Regions from separate parts of the Homo sapiens genome. Here region 2 is linked to region 1. The links are contacts of gene promoters, found by promoter capture Hi-C in blood cells and fetal thymus (Javierre and others, 2016). All regions are on one chromosome and are shown on one strand. Each heading gives the region's core, a stretch centred on a gene start or on the middle of the fragment in contact. The rest is flanking DNA. Distances are from core to core; before and after follow the strand shown.

Region 1 (3,362 bases), core at 509-3,008:
TGAGAGGGGCTGGAAGTCTAAATATTATCAGCCATTATTCTGGAGGTCATAAGATAAGATTTGCAACTTCCCCAAGATATCAACACTACTGTGAACCTAGGGTTGGCCTTTTTTTTTTTTTTAAATGGAGTCTCGTTCTGTAGCCCAGGTTAGTGTACAGAGGGACAATCTCGGCTCACTGCAACCTCCACCTCCCAGGTTCAAGCCATTCTCCTGCCTCAGCCTCCCAAGTAGCTGGGATTACAGCCATGTGCCACCACGCCTGGCTAATTTTGTATTTTTAGTAGAGACGGGGTTTTGCATGTTGGCCACGCTGGTCTCCAACTCCTGACCTCAAGTGATCGCCTGCTTTGGCCTTTCAATGTGCTGGGATTCCAGGCCTGAGCCACCGCGTCAGCCTAGGATTTGCCTTTTAAGAAGTCTTTTCCGCCGGGCGCGGTGGCTCACGCCTGGAATCCCAGCACTTTGGGAGACTGAGGTGGGCGGATCACGAGGTCAGGAGATCGAGACCATGCTGGCCAACATGATGAAACCCCGTCTGTACTAAAAATACAAAAATTAGCCGGGCGTGGTGGTGAGCGCCTGTAATTCCAGCTACTCGGGAGGCTGAGGCAGGAAAATCGCTCGAACCCGGGAGGCGGAGGTTGTAGTTAGCCAAGATCGCGCCACTGCACTCCAGCCTGGGCAACAAGGGCGAGATTCCGTCTCAAAAAAAAAAAAAAGTCTTTTCAGGTTTTTGCATTTCTGACAACCGGATGGCCCCACCTGGACCTGCCAACCAGTTGTGTGGCCTCTACCCAGGGACTGACTCAGCATAAGCGGACAGCTTCGACTCCCTGTGATTTCATCCCTAGCTGACCAGTCAGCACTTCTGACTCACTGGCCCCCTACCCACCAAATTATTCTTAAATACTGGGATCCCCGAGTTTTGGGGAGACTGATTTGAGGAATAAAACTCTGGTCTCCCGAACAATCGGCTCTGTGTGAATTATGCTTTCTCTATTGCAATTCCCCTGTCTTGACAATAGACTCTGTCCCGGCAGCTGGCAAGGCGAACCCATGGGGCGGTTACAGTGTCTGCAACGCAGACACAAGCGACAGAGACTTGATCAGAATATACAAGGAACTCTGCAAGTCAGCGATGGTAAGAAGCAGGGCAGCTGGGCCTCCTACGCCTGCCTCGCCGTTCGGTCCCCCGGACACCTCTGGGCTTAGGACTCAGGGGAACAGATTCCCAGAAGCAGGTTCCCCGCCGCGTCCGGCGCCCGGGCTCTGCAGCCGCCCCCTGCTCTGCCTCCTGCACCCGCAGGGCGTCCCCCGCCGCTCCCTCCCCTGCTTCCTGCAGCGGCCCCCGACCCCAGTCCTGGCCCCACCATGGATCCTGCATCGCCGGGTTCGGCCCTGGCGGGTTCAGCCCCGCAGAGTCGGCACCCGGGCCAGGTCCATCTCCTCCAGCCCTCCCGGTGCGTCCCGCGGGGCAGGAAGGAGGCGAGGCCCAGCCGCCCCGTGTCGTGCAGGTGTTTTCCCGGGCCCGTCCGCGGCGGCTGCTGAGGACCTGGGGAGACCCAGCCTGTAGGATCCGCAGCTGCGGTGCGCGGCCGGCAGTGGCGCTCGGGCTTCGTCCCCGGGGGCGGGGCTTCGTCCAGGCGCGCAGGGACCAGCGGGCCTCGCCCTCCCGCGCCGCTTTCCGATTGGCAGCCGCCCGCGGGGCATTGTGGGCCGTCCGCGCGCCCGTCCCGTCGCCGCCGCCGCCGCCGCAGACCCCTCGGTCTTGCTATGTCGAGCTCACCCGTGAAGCGTCAGAGGATGGAGTCCGCGCTGGACCAGCTCAAGCAGTTCACCACCGTGGTGGCCGACACGGGCGACTTCCACGGTGAGGACGGCGCGGAGCCCGGGCGCGGCGCAAGCGCCCTCCAGAGGCCCCGGCGCCCCGATTTCCCCGGGTCTCCCGTTCCGGGACGCGGACCGGGTGGCGGTGCCCCGGGCGGCTCGTTCCGGGAGGAATGAGCGCAGGTGCCGGATGTTGGGGCCAGGGACAGCCGTGAGGGGAGCGGGGCCCGGGTCGGCCGTGAGAGGCGCAGGGCCAGCGGCGACCGTGAGGGGAACGGGGCCCGGGTCGGCCGTGAGGGAGCAGGGCCGGGGGCAGCCGTGAGGAGCTGGGGTCAGCCGTGAGGGGCTCGGTGCTGGGGTCAGCGGTGCGGGCGGTACTGACGGGTCCTTGCGAGCCGTGGGGCACGAAGCCGGAGCCCCAGCCTCGCCCTCCGCCCAGGGTGGGGTCGGCTGCGCCCTCAGACCCCGCACCCGGGACGGGCTGTGGGCAGCCCGCGGGAGCCCCTCTGTGCACCTTCATGGGTCGAGGCAGCTTTCAGAGCCTTTGAGTTCAGGAGAGATTCAGGGTAGAGCTTCGAGCTGACTTCCACGTGGCCAGTTTGTGGTCAGCGAGATGCAATTTTGTTGGGCTGATGTCTGCAGAGCGGGGACATCAGCTAGCTCTGACCAGAAGCTGCCAGTGCTGCCATCGCCCTTGAGCCCTGCGGTGCCCAGTGGGACAACTCCGTGGGCGGCAGGTGCCCGGCCTGCTGGACAGCCACCGCCAGACGCACCGGGTGGGTAAAAGCCGGTGCCCATGAAAGCACAGGGTTGGTACACTGTTAAATACTGGATTTTCCTGGGCTTGAGTTGTTTACATTGGAGAGAACTTGGAAAATACAAAGAAGGATTATTTATTAATACTTAGCTCTTCTGTCCTCTGCAGTGCAGAGTAGACGAGCCTTGTGTCTATGTTTTGTTGAGAACAAGTAATATTTTTTAAGAAAATCATGAAACGCTTCATGGATGAATGCTGCGAGCACCTAATACGGAAGTGACTTCCTCTCTTTTCTGCTTTCTCATGGTGACTTGAGAAACAGGCTTTAATTCCTCTTTGGTAACTGAGTAAGGGCATTGTTTATCTAGCAGAGCCTAGAGAGTGAATTGGCATGTTTGGCTGCTTAACCATAAAATATGGGGATTCAGTGACTGGCTTGGGGTGCCACAGTCTGCTCCGGACCCCTCTTTGGGAGATCCAAAGCTAGAGCTGTGAATCCCTCACACACACAGCCCCCCCGTTGTAGTCCAGACCTCTCTTCATAAGAAAGAAAGCTCCAGAAAAGGGGCTACACATTTTTCTGCTGCTCAGTTTTTTCCCTTCTTAGCACTGAGAATAATTTGCAGTTTGCCTGGTGGACAGAGCGCTCATCTGTATTGTTCCTTACTGGCCCTCACCAGTTAGGGCAGAGCTGGTGCGGAGTGTCAGGTCCATTACACTTGGCAGTGCAGGGCCAATAAAGATGGATTTTCCTAAACCCACACCCACAGGAGGG
Region 2 (3,362 bases), core at 247-2,746, 530 kb before region 1:
TGGACCCCTGTAGGGTGGGACAGGATGACAAATGGGCAAGAGCTTCCAGAATCAAGCACCTGTTCCTAAGTGCTATCTGGGATACCAGAAGGTGGCAGATGGCAGGAGCTGGTTACCTGTGCCGCTTCTGGAGGGAGGCCTCTTCCTGCAGTTGCCTTGCCCACCTCACCCCACTGGGAAAATAGGTGGCTTGCCTCCTGTCCTGGAGAGTCACTAATGCATTCCCCACATTCCACCCACTGGGAAACAGCATAAACCCTGTGACCGGGAGGGTGGAGGAGAAGCCGCCTAACCCTATGGAGGGCATGACAGAGGAGCAGAAGGAGCACGAGGCCATGAAGCTGGTGACCATGTTTGACAAGCTCTCCAGGTGTGTGGCATGAGGAGGAGGGGCCTGCAGCTGGGAGAAGGGAGAGCTGACCCACATCCTGTCTTGTGAGCCCCAGGAGGTAGGATCAGAGGAGAGCTTAGGATCCTGGTATTAGGTTGCATTGCTCACGTTTGAAATCACTTGCCCTGGAGGAAATCCCCCAGGGGATGGGTATATTGAGATCAGTATTGTGCCCCTTTTACAGATGATAACTGAGGCCCAGAGAAATTAAGAGACTGTCTAAGGCCGGGCGTGGTAGCTCACGCCTATAATCCCAGCACTTTGGGAGACTGAGGCAGGTAGATCACAAGGTCAGGAGATCGAGACCATCCTGGCCAACATGGTGAAACCCCATCTCTGCTAAAATACAAAAAAAAAGTTAGCTGGGCGTGGTGGTGGGCGCCTGTAGTCCCAGCTGCTCGGGAGGTTGAGGCAGGGGAATCACTTGAACCCAGGAGGCAGAGCTTGCAGTGAGCTGACATTGTGCCACCGCACTCCAGCCTGGCAACAGAGTGAGACTTCGTCTCAAAAAAAAAAAAGAGACTAATGTCGCCAGATTTATTGGAGATGGCCCAGTGTCCAAATTAAGAGCCTGCTTAAGGCCAATTTAGATGTTTAAAATAGGAAACTGCTTAAAGCCAGGAGGCAGCAGTTAGGGTTTGGGCCCAGTTAACAGAAGGTCCAACCAGGCTTCCCCAGTAAATGGGAGCAGCCTACTTGGTAGAGAGGAAGGTAGCAGCCACGGGTGAGTAGGACCCCTGCCTGGCCAACTGGGCCCCTTCCCCAGCCCCACTGCACCTTTCCCCAACAGGAACAGAGTCATCCAGCCAATGGGGATGAGTCCCCGGGGTCATCTTACGTCCCTGCAGGATGCCATGTGCGAGACTATGGAGCAGCAGCTCTCCTCGGACCCTGACTCGGACCCTGACTGAGGATGGCAGCTCTTCTGCTCCCCCATCAGGACTGGTGCTGCTTCCAGAGACTTCCTTGGGGTTGCAACCTGGGGAAGCCACATCCCACTGGATCCACACCCGCCCCCACTTCTCCATCTTAGAAACCCCTTCTCTTGACTCCCGTTCTGTTCATGATTTGCCTCTGGTCCAGTTTCTCATCTCTGGACTGCAACGGTCTTCTTGTGCTAGAACTCAGGCTCAGCCTCGAATTCCACAGACGAAGTACTTTCTTTTGTCTGCGCCAAGAGGAATGTGTTCAGAAGCTGCTGCCTGAGGGCAGGGCCTACCTGGGCACACAGAAGAGCATATGGGAGGGCAGGGGTTTGGGTGTGGGTGCACACAAAGCAAGCACCATCTGGGATTGGCACACTGGCAGAGCCAGTGTGTTGGGGTATGTGCTGCACTTCCCAGGGAGAAAACCTGTCAGAACTTTCCATACGAGTATATCAGAACACACCCTTCCAAGGTATGTATGCTCTGTTGTTCCTGTCCTGTCTTCACTGAGCGCAGGGCTGGAGGCCTCTTAGACATTCTCCTTGGTCCTCGTTCAGCTGCCCACTGTAGTATCCACAGTGCCCGAGTTCTCGCTGGTTTTGGCAATTAAACCTCCTTCCTACTGGTTTAGACTACACTTACAACAAGGAAAATGCCCCTCGTGTGACCATAGATTGAGATTTATACCACATACCACACATAGCCACAGAAACATCATCTTGAAATAAAGAAGAGTTTTGGACAAAAATGTATGTGTAAATTATCAAATAAAGGGGCCAGGCACAGTGGCTCATGCCTGTAATCCCAGCACTTTGGGAGGCCGAGGTGGGTGGATCACTTGAAGCCAGGAGTTCGAGACCAGCCTGGCCAACATAGCAAAACCTTGTCTCTATTACAAATATGCCCATGTGCTAGGTGTGGTGGGACACACCTGTAATCCCAGCTACCCAGGAGAATCGCTTAAACCCGGGAGGCGGAAGTTGCAGTGAGCTGAGATCATAACACCGCACTCCACCCTGAGTGACAGGGCAAGACTCAAAAAATAAAAAAGGAACATTAACTAGGGTTAGAAACTAACTTCATTCTTTTTAGAATTCAACAGTTTTCCTAGGTCACCAATTCCACCTTTTGTTCTTATTAAGGCGCAAAGTCACAGGACCCCCTTCCTGGGAGTCACTGTCATTAAATCTATTGCCGTCAGCTCAGCCCAGGGTAGGCAAGGTTCAAGAATGGGAAGTGCTTTTGTCTGGGGAAACACGCAGGTAATGTGATGCTAGGAAGGAGGATGTGCAGGTGGGTGAGAGCCCAGGAGGGAGCAGCTGGTGCCTGACAGGGTGAGCCATCAGGGCTGGGCCTGGGTACAGCCCCAGGAGAAGGAGCCTGTGCAGAAGTAGCAGTTCAGTGGATTCCACCTCCTATGTCACAATCCAGCAGGTGGCCAGGACTCAGCCTGGGTTTTAAGTGAGTAATGCCTTCCCTGTCTCAGAGATTAGCTCTAACAGTGTCACTAGAGGAAGCCCTGGCGAGGGTGGGGGGGCGTAGTGTGGGGACAAGGAGGCCAGATAGAAAGTGCTGGAATGTTCTGGAACAGATCTGTTTCTGGAGGAGAGGCTGAGTATGGAGAGTCAACAGAATGTGACCACCTTCAGAGGGAGGAGCTGGGCCGTCTCCAATAAATCCAGGGACAAATGCCTTCAGTCCTCAGACTGTTCCAATAGAGGGGACGCCACGTATCCCAGGGTTCCCTTTCCAACTCATGTCAACACCTGCAGTCCCTTTGAGGAGACTAAATGTATTTCATGCTGGAAAGAACAGATTTTCTCTCATTAAAAATAGCCCCACTAAAGGAGACCAACATGCTAGAAGTGCGGCACCAGGGCCTCAAGACTACACTTCGGAACATGAAGAGGGCTGGGGACCGCTCGGCCCAAGTCTGGATCTTGTAACCAACAGATGCCGAGCTTGCCGTTCAACTAGGCACAGAAAGCAGACTCGGTCTGGGATTCCAGTTGGTCTGATTCAGTTCAAGAGGGTCACAGTCAGAA

The links. Contacts are between HindIII fragments. The CHiCAGO score rates a contact against its expected background, and 5 or more counts as called.
Region 2: a contact is called between a fragment that was not itself captured here and the fragment with the promoter of TALDO1 in region 1, in 1 of 17 cell types (neutrophils). The highest score is 5.5, in neutrophils.

What each region holds. Positions count from the first base shown.
Region 1 is chr11:745,706-749,067 of GRCh38, forward strand. It overlaps TALDO1 (transaldolase 1), which reads left to right and starts at 1,759. Exons shown (of 8, transcript NM_006755.2): 1 at 1,759-1,873. The coding sequence starts at 1,777. LOC105376509 (a long non-coding RNA gene) reads left to right here. Exons shown (of 3, transcript XR_930962.3): 3 at 1,044-1,257. RefSeq lists enhancers at 743-1,391, 1,030-1,089, 1,392-2,040 and silencers at 1,220-1,819, 1,880-2,169, 2,270-2,359. The HindIII fragment of the contact is 13,110 bases long and covers 1-3,362 here.
Region 2 is chr11:213,049-216,410 of GRCh38, forward strand. It overlaps RIC8A (RIC8 guanine nucleotide exchange factor A), which reads left to right. Exons shown (of 10, transcript NM_001286134.2): 9 at 251-370; 10 at 1,182-2,065. The coding sequence ends at 1,302. It overlaps SIRT3 (sirtuin 3), which reads right to left. Exons shown (of 7, transcript NM_012239.6): 7 at 1,982-3,362. Among named protein-coding and RNA genes, the nearest start is that of MIR6743, 5.4 kb to the left of the region's middle. The HindIII fragment of the contact is 3,738 bases long and covers 1-3,362 here.